Linked DNA regions of Homo sapiens: region 2 is linked to region 1. The links are contacts of gene promoters, found by promoter capture Hi-C in blood cells and fetal thymus (Javierre and others, 2016). All regions are on one chromosome and are shown on one strand. Each heading gives the region's core, a stretch centred on a gene start or on the middle of the fragment in contact. The rest is flanking DNA. Distances are from core to core; before and after follow the strand shown. Region 1 holds the start of HTRA4 (HtrA serine peptidase 4). Region 2 has its middle 29 kb from the start of PLEKHA2.

Region 1 (6,488 bases), core at 1,651-4,150:
CACGCTGGTGTGCTTTTGCCCTCAGAAATTCTTGGTTTGGGAGTTATGTATTTTTGAGTGATCGAGGTTATGACATACTTGGAGCGGCATGATTTCAAGAAGCCATTCCAAATTCTTATAGCTCCTTAGCTCTGGTTTTACTCTCGTATTTTCCCCAAGAAAATTTTTTGGCTATTCAAAGAAAGCACAAAATATGTGATGTGGAACTCATGAAAATAGGGACTTTTGATATCTCTTTAAATATTCCCTGACTCACGGAAAAGATGTCCTCTTTTGGTGTATACATTGTGAAAATCTACCCATTTATCTCTCTCTCTCTCTTTTCTTTTAAATAAATTATCTGATAAGGCCGGCAAGGTGGCTCACGCCTGTAATCCCAGCACTTTGGGAGGCCGAGGCGAGCGGATCACGAGGTCAGGAGATCGAGACCGCGGTGAAACCCCGTCTCTACTAAAAATACGAAAAAAAAATTAGCCGGGCGCAGTGGCAGGCGCCTGTAGTCCCAGCTACTTGGGAGGCTGCGGCAGGAGAATGGTGTGAACCTGGGAGGCGGAGCTTGCAGTGAGCCAAGATCGCGCCACTGCACTCCAGCCTGGGCGACAGAGCAAGACTCCATCTCAAAAAAAAAATTATCTGATAGGTTACTATTGCTAAATTAATTGGCCATTATAATAAGCTGATTTGTTTCTTATTCAGCAAGATCTCTTTTGAGAATGTGACAAATTAAACATACATAGAATCCATATGGTATTATCCTGATAAAGGGAAACGAGGACACTAAGACTGTCAAATGGAAATCTTCTTGTCAATTGGCAAACACTTGGGAATTCCACATTAGAGCATTGCTTGTTTTTAATTTTTTTTTTTTAATTTTTAAAAGACAGGGTCTCACTCTCTTACCCAGGCTAGAGTGCAGTGGTGTGATCATAGTTCATCATAACTTTGAATCTCTGGGCTTAAGCAATCCTCCCATGTTAGCTTCCCAAGTAGCTAGGACTACAGGGTTGTGCTACCACGCCTGGCTAATTTTTAATTTTTTTTTATCTACAGAGCCTGGCTATGTTGCCCAGGCTCTCTCAAACTCCTGGCCCAAGTGATCCTCCTGCCTTGGCCTCCTAAAGTGTTGGGATTACAGGTGTGAGCCACTGCACCTAGCCAGAACATCGTTAATGTAGTTCAATATGAGATAAATTATTATCTTCAATGAAACAAGCTCTAAAAGCATTCCATTCCTAAATTGTATTTCAAACTTCCTATTTTGTTGATATTTCTTAACTTCTGGCCAGTTTTGGACCATAATCTTTTAATGTGAACCAAAGATGGTACGTATTTGACCAAAGCAGTTAGTTTTAAATGTATAAAATTGAACCAAATGGAAAAAATAGGTTGGGGATGCAGTATAGATTAGTGACTAAGTGCATAGGCTCTGGAGTAAATCTGAGTTTTTTTTTTTTTAAAGGAACTAAAAAATGTACTGCATTTTCTTTGTGGAATAAAAGCCTTGCCTGAGTTGTGCTATTTTCATAAGGCTTTTGAAGTGGTCTTGACCCACTGTGTGTAACAGTATTTCAGGTGGTCCTCCCCATGGCTGAATAATGCCATCCATTATTCTTTAATTTTTATTTTTAGAAACAGTGTTTCACTCTGTCACCCAGGCTGGAGTGCAGTGGCCTGATCATGGCTCACTGCAGCCTGGACCTCCTGGGCTCAAGTGATCTTCCTGCCTCACAGCCTCCCAAAGTACTCAGATTATAGGTGTGAGCCACCACGCCTGGCCACCATCTATTACTTTTGAAATCTTCAAAAGACTTGCTTACTCAATGTCAGCTGATGGTTGGTAAAAATAATTTGGCCTTTAGTGTTAAGTGAGACATCATAAGGGTATTGAGGTATACATTATGGAGATTGATGTCAGGTCAGAATATTGGAGTTATACATCTATTTCTGAGTTGAATACTCAGCTCCCACGAGAAAGAAAGTAGTTTTAAGGTCCAGCTTCTTAGTCTACTTGAAGCAAATTTTTTTTCTTTTATATTTCTGAATATAAATATACTCTTATATGGGCTAAAAAGACCCCATGAATAAATAGCAGGTTCAGTAGTTGAGGAGTGGAGTTTAGTAGGTTTGTTTTCAGTATAAATTAGATAACATGTGGAGGTCACAGCATTTTGGAAATTGAGTGTCCCCAAGTGAGCTTTGTTTATAAACTTTCAAAATGTCGGAAGTGGACAGGTTTGTTAAATCTTGTCTGCCAGCACCCTTTTCTTCCTTTGTTCCTTTTCCTCTCTGTGTTATTGCCTGCGGCAGCCAGTCCTTCATACTAGATAGAGTTCAGATAAAGCAAACGTTTGGCAAAAACATACTGTTTGACCTCCTCCCCCTCTGCTTATGAAGGGGTAGCATGATTCTGTGTTTTAAAGCAGTGATGTTTCAGCTGTGAAATGCACTCGCTGTAAGCTCTAGGCTGAGTGCATGGAAACTGTTACGCTTCTCATTTTATGTGATCTCCTAATTGGTATGTAGCAAAAATTTTCTAAAACTGTTTTGTGGCTTGTTTTGTAATAAAACCATGTGAAATACTGAAATATGGTCATGTGTTTTCCTAATACTGACCTTCTGACCATGGGTGGGTGAGCTTTCTTATCAGTCTGCCCTCATTGTCGGTTTTAGGGATTTCAGGAGGTAGGTTCCTGCTCCGGGTAGGGCTAGAGACCTTCCCCTCATTGCCTGGGGGAGAACCTGGCTCCGGGGCGCCGACGGGGGCGGGTGGTAGGGGATGTACGGGTGTGTATATGCAGAGGTATGCCAGGCTCTGCCCCTTAAAGTTTGGGGGCCGGCGGAGGCGGCGCCGTGGCCGGGAGAAAGTGTCTCTCATTTAGGAGGGTTTGCAGGTCCAGAGTAAAGTCACTGAAGAGTGGAAGCGAGGAAGGAACAGGATGATTAGACCTCAGCTGCGGACCGCGGGGCTGGGACGATGCCTCCTGCCGGGGCTGCTGCTGCTCCTGGTGCCCGTCCTCTGGGCCGGGGCTGAAAAGCTACATACCCAGCCCTCCTGCCCCGCGGTCTGCCAGCCCACGCGCTGCCCCGCGCTGCCCACCTGCGCGCTGGGGACCACGCCGGTGTTCGACCTGTGCCGCTGTTGCCGCGTCTGCCCCGCGGCCGAGCGTGAAGTCTGCGGCGGGGCGCAGGGCCAACCGTGCGCCCCGGGGCTGCAGTGCCTCCAGCCGCTGCGCCCCGGGTTCCCCAGCACCTGCGGTTGCCCGACGCTGGGAGGGGCCGTGTGCGGCAGCGACAGGCGCACCTACCCCAGCATGTGCGCGCTCCGGGCCGAAAACCGCGCCGCGCGCCGCCTGGGCAAGGTCCCGGCCGTGCCTGTGCAGTGGGGGAACTGCGGGGATACAGGTGAGCCGCGGGGGCGCGCGCCCTCGGAACACTTTCTAACTCTGGAGGAGCGTAAAGGAACAAGACCTCACTGAGACCGCACAGTTCGCGCCTGGTCCTCCTGCGTCATTTGCCTCCTGGATTCGACACCTCTGTGTTCCTGATTTCCTTTCCTCCTTAACAGGGGCTCTTTACCGGCTGCTACGTGGTTTCTCCCTCCCCATGCACCTTTTGAACACTGTCTTGCCTTTAACATTTTTCCAACTAGGATAGCAGGTCTGGTTCCCTCGAGGCGTACTCTTGAGCCAGTATTTTTTCATAGGGACCAGAAGCGCAGGCCCGCTCAGGAGGAATTACAACTTCATCGCCGCGGTGGTGGAGAAGGTGGCGCCATCGGTGGTTCACGTGCAGCTGTGGGGCAGGTAAAGGAGGAGGAGGAAGACCTCCACTGTCCCAGCTAATGGTTTCTGCGTGCCTACCTGCTCCAGACCCTTCGCAAGCGTCATTTAATCCTAAAAAACCAGTGAGGAAACTGAGACGTAAAGAGGTTGAATAACCTGTTCAAGGTCATTTAACCAAAGAGCAGAGGCACAAGGATGCTGACTTCTAAATCCCAGCTCCCCCTGCCCACTTAGGTGGCTGGTGCTTTTTCCCCCTCCTGCCACAGACAAAATTTAAGGTCAGATATAAGAGCTAGTAGGCAATTTCTTTTCTTTTTTTGAGACAAGGTCTTGCTCTGTCGCCAGGGCTGAAATGCAGTGACAGATCACGGCTCACTGCAGCTCCATCTGCTGGGCTCAAGTAATCCTCCCAACCCAGCCTCTGGAGTAACTGGGACTATAGGCAGGTGCCACCATACCCAGCTAATATTTGTATTTTTTTGTAGAGACGAGGTCTTGTTATATTGCTCAGGCTGGTCTCGAACTCCTGGGCCCAAACGATCTGCCACCTTAGCCTCCCGACGTGCTGGGATTACGGGTGTAGCCACCACATCCAGCTTAGTAGGCATTTTGGTTGTGATCTTGCTCAGCCCCCACTTTGGATACAAGGAAATCCAGACCCAGAGAGCAGGGTTAATTTGTCCTATGTTACTATGTTACGAGGCCAGTTGGCGGTGGAAACTAAGCCAGAATCAGAGCCCTTTGATTCTCTCCTGCCTGGGTCCTTGATACTGTGGTAAGAGGCTGACTTTTGCCTCTAGTATTAGGATTGGGTTCAGTCTTTTCGCAGCAGAGAACCCATGGGCTGCTACACTAACCAGCTCTGAAGAAGCAGTGTCCCTGGAAAAGGAGAGCTGGACCCCACTCTCAACCATGCTCACAAGAGATGGCTGGGGCCCTGTACCTGCCAAGTCCACTGATACATGGAGAAAATTTACGCATAGCCAGGGAAAAGTGAAATGTCTGAGAAAACTGAAGGAAGGCTGGGTACGGTGGCTCATGCCTGTAATCCCAGCACTTTGGGAGGCCGAGGCGGGTGGATCACCTGAGGTCAGGCGTTCGAGAGCAGCCTGGCCAACATGGTGAAACCCCATCTCCACTAAAAATACAAAAATTAGCCAGGCGTGGTGGTGCATGCCTGTTATCCCAGCTACTTGGGAGGCTGAGGCAGGAGCCTGGGAGGTGGTTGCAGTGAGCCGAGATTGCGCCACTGCACTCCAGCTTGGGCAACAGAGCGAGATTCTGTCTCAAAAAAGAAAAAAGAAAAGAAAAGAAAACTATGATGGAGGTATGTTTAATAAGAGTGAGGTTCCCATGACTCAGATTATATGGCTGTATCCCCTAACTTTCTTGCCCTCTGTTTACACTATTGTCTTGTGGAGACAGGTTACTTCACGGCAGCAGGCTTGTTCCTGTGTACAGTGGCTCTGGGTTCATAGTGTCTGAGGACGGGCTCATTATTACCAATGCCCATGTTGTCAGGAACCAGCAGTGGATTGAGGTGGTGCTCCAGAATGGGGCCCGTTATGAAGCTGTTGTCAAGGATATTGACCTTAAATTGGATCTTGCGGTGATTAAGATTGAATCAAATGTGAGTATTTCAGGGCTGAGTCAGAGTCTACATATTTGGGGATTTTTATCTATTTGCTGATATTTTCTGCCCCACTACACTCTCACACCACATCTTTTCTGTTGAATATATGCTTTTCTCTGGTTTCTTTCTGTTCTTTACTCCCTCTTTTATTTATTTGCTTCAACGCCTTTCTGTATATCCCTAACCGTTTCTTTCTTTTCTTTCTTTTTTTTTGAAACAGTCTCCCTCTGTCACCCAGGCTGGAGTACAGTGGCTCAATCTCAGCTCACTGCAACCTCTGCCTCCTGGGTTCAAGTGATTCTCCTGCCTCAGCTTCCTGAGTACCTGGGATTACAGGTGCCTGCCACCACGCCTGGCTAATTTTTGTACTTTTAGTAGAGACTGGGTTTTACCATGTTGGCCAGGCTGGTCTCGAACTCCTGACCTCAAGTGATCCGCCCGCTTCGGCCTCCCAAAGTGCTGGGATTACAGGTGTGAGCCACTGCGCTTGGCCTCTAACTGTTTCTATTAACTATCAAGCAGTCTTTTTTTTTTTTTTTTCCTCCTTCAACAAATGCTGCTTCAGGGAAAATTATTTCTCTACTTGTCTTAGGATATCAGAAATTACTGCGATGGACTCAAAGTTGCTAAGGAATACTTTGAAGTCCTTCCTACACATAGTACTGGTAGTCTGCACATCACATATATTGACATGGTGTCTGAGAGCTTTTTAGAAGTTCAGAGTCTCAGCCTTTACCCAGATAGATGTGCTGACTCAGAATCTGCATTAACATAACATCCCTAGGTGATTTGCATGCACATTACAGTGTGAGAAGTGTCACCCTGGGTGATCTCCTTTCTGTTTGTGGCTTATTCACTTTGACTGTTAAGCTTTGAGCTGGAATGGTGCTGTGTAAATTCCTAATGTCAGTTTATGTTCATCAGTGACTTCACTGGCTGTTTACTAATAGTAATTTCTACAAAGTAATTGTTTTAGATCTTAGAAATGATCCTAGTCATCTTAACACTCAAGAGCTTCATGGTAGTTGGACTTTGAGGAAGAAGTAGAAGGCAATCATAGAAGCTGTGTGAGT
Region 2 (6,509 bases), core at 1,004-3,503, 100 kb before region 1:
AGAGATGGGATCTCACTATGCTGCCCAGGCTGGTCTCAAATTCCTGGACTTGAATGATTCTCCCACTTCGGCCTCCCAAAGTGCTGAGATTACAGGCATGAGCCACTATGCCCAGCCCCAGCTAGTGTTTTTAACAAGCTCCAGGTGATTCTGATGCAAGGTTCAAGTTTGAGAACCACTACCTTGTGCTAGCACAAACTCAGATGAGTTATATGGAGAACTGATCAGCAGGCTCCCAACATCCTATTTTTGTTTTGTTTCTTTAAGAAAAAGAAAAGCTTCAAGCCTAATCAAAGTCACCACCAAGCAACTTAGATGTTCCATGTGTAGGCTGGGCGTGGTGGCTCAAGCCTGTCATCCTAACACTTTGGGAGGCTGAGGCGGGCGGATTGCTTGAACCCAGGAGTTCAAGACCAGCCTGGGCAATATAGTGAAACCCCATCTCTACAGAAATTACAAAAATTAGCCAAGCCCAGTGGTGGTGCGTGCCTGTAGTCTCAGCTACTTGGGAGGCTGACGCGGGAGGATCACTTGAACCCAGGAGGTGTAGGTTGCAGTGAGCTGAGATTGTGCAACTGCACTCCAGCCTGGGCAACAGAGCTAGACCCTGTCTCAAAAACAAAAAAAAAGGTTTTATTTGACAGACATGGAATGATTATGATTTATTTGATAATCTAGCAAATGATTTTTAAAAACCTACTATTTGCACTGTACTTTCTGGGCAGAGGGAAGAAAGAAATAAAAAAGACACAAGGTTCCTTCCTCCAGTAGGATTCTGCCGTCACCACATCATCAATCATCATCATCATTATCAATCATCATCATCCAAACATCATCATTACTATCATCAATCATCACCATCTTCAAAAAACATCTTTTAATGCTAATGATAGTCACTTATAAGAATCCACGTCTGAAAATCCACAAGGGATTTCTGAGAACTCATTTTGTACCCAGCTCTGTTCCCTAAGGCTTCTGCCTACAACTGATTTGCTGTCTGGTTCAGTCAGAACTTGAACACAAGAAGCAATCAGTCACACAGGGCAGCAGATAATTGTGGGCTAAATGTTTCCAAGCTTAAGCAGGCCTGTGGATTCAAGAGTCCTCTTCCAGCTTTATGCAGATGGCCTTCATTTTCACTCCTTGCCTGAAGCCCTGTATTTTTCTTCTTTTTTTTTTTTAATCCAGATAGTGGCAATCACATGCTACAAGATAAACAAGGTGATGCCCTTTGCATCTCCCTACTCTCTTATCCACAGCAATTTCCCAGCCTATTTTTCAAAAACCCCCAAAGGAATTATTAGGCTGGCTGTGCACGGTGGCTCACACCTGTAATCCCAGCACTTTAGGATGCCAAGGCGGGTGGATCACCTGAGGTCAGGAGTTCGACACCAGCCTGGCCAACATGGTGAAACCCCGTCTCGACTGAAAATACAAAATTAGCCGGGCGTGGTGGCACATGCCTGTGATCCCAGCTACTTGGGAGGCTGAGGCAGGAGAATCACTTGAGCCCAAGAGGCAGAGGTTGCAGTGAGCCAAGATTGCACCATTGCACCCCAACCTGGGCAACAGAGCGAGACTCTGTCTCAAAAAATAAAAATAAAAAAAGATAAAGGGGATTATTAGGCCTATCAGACCCCAAATACTGCCAGAATGAGGCCAGAATTTCCCAGGAATTGAGCTCCCACTCCCCACCCTGCAGGCATTGAGTCATGCGTCTCCAGGAGAGAGCATTTGGCTACACCTTTGGTGCTATCGAGGAAATCATGATGCCCAGTGGTCCACAGCTCTTAGGAATCTGAGCTTCTCTGGGTTTGTCCGTGGACGTGGGGAGAGGAGTCTTTTGGTGCCCTGACTCTAAGAACTTTGACCTTTAATTCTGAAGTCCTGGGCCCCTATCATCTCTCTCCCAAAGGGAGTGTTTGAGGATATGGCAAGTGCGGCATTAACAGATGATTCTAGGAAGAAGAGGAAAAGGCCTGTTCTATAAATAAATGTACTGTTCCTGAATGAGGCACTGTCCTCCTCCCTACTCCCACCCAATCACCCTTGTGACTCTTTCAGAGCAGAGCAGAGCAGCCCCGAGCCAAGGATTAGTGTGATCACAAGGTCAACAATAGATACCCTGTCCATAAATACTCCTGGAGAGCTTTAGTCATTGACTAGGAGCCAGGAGTGGGGGAATAAGAAGAGGGGAAGGGAGAGAGCTGGAAGCCTGTAGGGCTAGCTTGAAACATCTACAGTTGTTTGTTTGTTTGTTTGTTTGTTTGTTTGTTTAAAAAAGCCCAACTTTCCTCCTGAATGTGAAAGTCTCTGGATGGCGTGGAGAAGGGAGGGGACACGGGCTTCAGGAGGGGGATACTGGGAGGGATGGATGAACCCCAGAGAAGGACTCTTGTTTTTAGGGTGGTTAGCTTTATCCTCAGAGCACAGATCTGCCCCCAAAATCTTTGTTAAAAGAAACCCAAGAGCTGGCCGGGTGCGGTGGCTCATGCGTATAATCCCAGCACTTTGGGAGGCCAAGGCAGGTGGATCACCTGAGGTCAGGAGTTTGAGACCAGCCTGGCCAATATGGTGATACCCTGTCTCTACTAAAACACAAAAATTAGTTGGGCGTGGTTGTGGGCACCTGTAATCCCAGCTACTTGGAAGGCTGAGACAGGAGAATGGCTTGAACCCAAGAAGTGGAGGTTGTAGTGAGCCAAGATCATGCCACTTACACTCCAGCCTGCATGACAGAGCAAGACTCCACCTCGAAAAGAAAAGAAAAGAAACCCAAGAGCTGGTACCACCAGCAATTTCAGAATCTCTTTTGTTATATCTTCAGTAAGCAGGAAGAGAGAGCCAGGCTCCTGCATTGATAAGGCTGGGAAACAGTTTAATATCTAACCTTTTTGGATATGAGGACCAATGAAGCCAAGCGATAATCTGTTGGAGGGGCCTGTTCTGCGGGTTCTGAGGACCCCGGGGATCTTTAAGTCCTCACTTTCTTTTTGGGCATGAACATTTGGGTGTTGCAGGCAGATAAAAGTGGTGGGGGAATGTGATCAAGAGATGGAAAGCTGCGTGTAGGAGCGCACTGCCCACCAGCATTGCACCTAAATAAAGAAGGCCACGATGTGCTGTGACAGTGCCACAGAACTGATAGTCTGCATTTTCACCAGGCAGAGGGGAGGACAGGGGGGTGGGTCGGCTTTACTGTCACCAGCAGAGAACTTCCAGAGCAGCTTGGATGAATCATCTGGTGCACACGCACACTCAACATTTTAAAATATGGATGATGGGGCTGGGGAGGCGCCAACTCACAAAAGCTGACTGTTGGGTACATAATTTTTTGGACCCGGTGTGTCTAATTCCATCTTCAATTATTGATTCTTTTGATCCCTTTCAAGTGAAACTTTAAGTGACTTATCTAAAAATAGGCTACTGCTAAGCTTATGTTAGAAGGAGGTAAAAACCTAAGTTATTTAAGATGATGTGGCTAATGTAAGTGACTAATCAGAAAACAAATTAGCTAATTGGTTGTGGTCACAATGTTATTAACATTAGATGCTACTAACATCTTTGTTTTGCCTTTTTTAAAATTTTTTAAGAGACAGAGTCTCACTATGCTGCCCAGGCTGGTCCTGAACTCCTGGCCTCAAGAGATTCTCCTGCCTCAGCCTCCCAAGTAGCTGAGATTACAGGCATGAGCCACTGTGTCTGACTGTTTTATTTTTTAAAACCAAAGTTTAGGGCGAGGCATGGTGGCTTACACTTGTAATCCCAGTGCTTTGGGAGGCCAAGGCAGGAGGAGTGCTTAAGACCAGGAGTTGGAGACCAACCTGGGCAACACAGTGAGACCACTACAGAAAACTTAAAAATTAGCTGGGCCTGGTGGCTCACACCTGTAGTTCCAGCTGCCCAGGAGGCTGAGGAGGGAGGATCGCTTGGGCCCAGGAGTTCGAGGTTACAGTGAACTATGATTGCACCACTGCATTCCAGCCTGGGCAACAGAGCAAGAACTTGTCTCAAAAACTTAAAAAATAAATAAAAATAAAACCAAGGTTTAGGTTCTGAGTTCCAGGGTGAATTTGTGTTTATAATTGATATTCAGAGCAAAAATTCACCATCCCTTTGTCCCCATGTTGGAGAAAGGGCATGGCTTTAGGTGGACAATAGATCTGAAAAATGTTGCCATTTCTTATCCCCAGAAACAAAAAGCCACTGAATTAAATTCCTTATTTGTCTTTGGAGACACAGGTTCTACTTCTGCAGAAAAGATGAAAGCAGATTCTGGCCAAGCAAACGAGAATGTAAGAAACTCTTACGAGATTCAGAGGTCAAAAGCTAGCTAAACGTAGCTGTAAAGGACTTTTTTGTGTGTGTACTTGGAGCTATGTGAAGATGGACTCTACAGGAGGTGATAGTTAAGCAATACTAATGCCTTGCTGTGATCTAAAAGGCTAAAACTTGCTAAGTCAGTCCAGTTACAGATGTTTTGCACCAGATTATTATGTACAATGAACTTCATGGGCCCCTGCTCTGGAAACAGCATGTCCTCTGTATTAGATTAGTGAGCCAAGACATAAATATATGGAAAGCTAAAAAAATAACAAAACAAAAAGTCAGCTGAAATTTTTGACCATTAAGGTAGGAGAAACACTGACTTCAACTTCACCAAGAAGCTGCATTTTGGGCTGGGCGCCATGGTCACCCCTGTAATCCCCCCACTTTAAGAGGCTGAGGAGGGGCTGGGCATGGTGGATCATACCTATAATCCCAACACTTTGGGAGGCCGAAGCAGGCCAGATTACTTGAGGTCAGGAGTTCAAGACCAGCCTGGCCAACATGGCGAAACCCTGCCTCTACTAAAAATACAAGAATTAGCCAGGCATGGTGGTGGGCCCGCGTAATCCCAGCTACTCGAGAGGCTGAGGCACAAGAATCGCTTGAACCTGGGAGGTGGAAGTTGCAGTGAGCTGAGATCACGCCACTGCACTTCAGCCTGGGTGACAAAGTAAGACTCTGTCTCAAAAAAAAAAAAAAAAAAAGAAGAAGAAAAAAAAAAAGTTGAGGAGGGAGGATCGCTTGAGACCAGGAGTTTGAGACCAGCCTGGGCAACATAGTGAAACCCTATCTCCAAAAAAGTAAAATTAAATTAAAAAAAAAAAAAGAAGTTGTCATTTGCTTGATGCTTAAGACCAAATGAAATCACCACAATTAGGATTTATGAAAAGAAGGGGCATCACCGTTTATAGCTTGATTTAAAGTTTTCACATCTTTCTTCAGAAATTGGTCATGGTTACATCTCACCTGAGCTGCAGCCAGCTGTCCTCTTCTAAGTTGTGCTGCTTGTGACGCAGGCGCAGGCAATGGCATCCACTTGGCAAAGCTTCTGAATCAGCCGTATCCGGAGAGCAAGGGAACTTGGCACCATTGGTCTTCGGCACGGGGAACACATCTGCCTTCAGTTGTCCCCATCGTGACTTTTTTCAGTAAGCACTCATGCAACAGTAATCAGTGACAGCAGTTCTCAAACCTGGAGAGCAGAAGTGTGCAGACTGGTCCTAGATGTATTTCCCTGGCCACCTCTTTGCTACCCCGGGCCACTTCTGCCCCACTTTCTTCCGAGCAGCAGCTGCTGAAAAGGCAGGAAGGGCACTCATTCTGAAGGTATTTCTCAGCACACGGCAAGCCCTTTGACAGGCAGCAGAGAAACCACTTTGAGCACTTGGCAGGGTCATTTTCTGATTCTTTTTCTTTTTTTCTGTAACCCTTAACATCTGGTAATTTTGGGATTCTCTTTTGCTTCATCCTCATTTGTGGCCCAGTCCATGATAAGCAGACACAAGCTGGTAGGAGCCATGCATTGACCTTCAACGTCAAGGTCAAGAGACCTTGAAAAACATCCGTAGCTTTTGCTGCCTGTAACATACCGTCCAGTGCTTGATTATATAGCCCTAGTTTATCTTCTAATTATGTCTTGCCTATCAATGTGTCAATTAACAAACATCAATTGGTGCCTTCTATGGACAGAGTCATGATCTCCCTTCCCTAGATATAGGAAACAAGTTATTTACTTTTTTATTTTCCCCCACCTACACTCCGCAGTGCAGAGCACTTACCCGGAAATTATTGGAAGTTTTCAAATAGGGTCTCACTCTGTTGCCCAGGCTGGAATGCAGTGACACAATCATGGCTCACTGCATCCTCAACCTCCTGGGCTCAAGCAGTCCTCCCACCTCAGCTCCCTGAGTAGCTGGGACTACAGGCACGCCACCACACCCAGCTAATTTTTAATTTTTTTGCGGGGGGGCGGGGACAGGGTCTCGTTCTGTTGCCAGGCTGGAGTGCAGTGGCGTGATCTCAGCTCACTGCAACCTCCACCTTCCGGGTTCAGGTGATTCTCCTGCCTCAGCCTCCTGAGTGACTGGGACTACACGTGCATGCCACCATGCCCAGCTAATTTTTGTATTTTTAGTAGAGACGAGGTTTCACCATGTTAGCCAGGATGGTCTCAATCTCTT

What was found. Contacts are between HindIII fragments. The CHiCAGO score rates a contact against its expected background, and 5 or more counts as called.
Region 2: a fragment that was not itself captured here is called in contact with the fragment with the promoter of HTRA4 in region 1 in 2 of 17 cell types (total CD8 T cells and non-activated CD4 T cells); the score reaches 7.1 in total CD8 T cells.

The regions. Positions count from the first base shown.
Region 1 is chr8:38,971,328-38,977,815 of GRCh38, forward strand. It overlaps HTRA4 (HtrA serine peptidase 4), which reads left to right and starts at 2,901. Exons shown (of 9, transcript NM_153692.4): 1 at 2,901-3,402; 2 at 3,704-3,803; 3 at 5,208-5,412. The coding sequence starts at 2,937. It overlaps PLEKHA2 (pleckstrin homology domain containing A2), which reads left to right. Exons shown (of 12, transcript NM_021623.2): 12 at 1-2,585. RefSeq lists a silencer at 3,068-3,297 and an enhancer at 3,478-3,537. The HindIII fragment of the contact is 7,181 bases long and covers 1-6,283 here.
Region 2 is chr8:38,869,166-38,875,674 of GRCh38, forward strand. No RefSeq gene overlaps it. Among named protein-coding and RNA genes, the nearest start is that of PLEKHA2, 29 kb to the right of the region's middle. The HindIII fragment of the contact is 2,358 bases long and covers 1,075-3,432 here.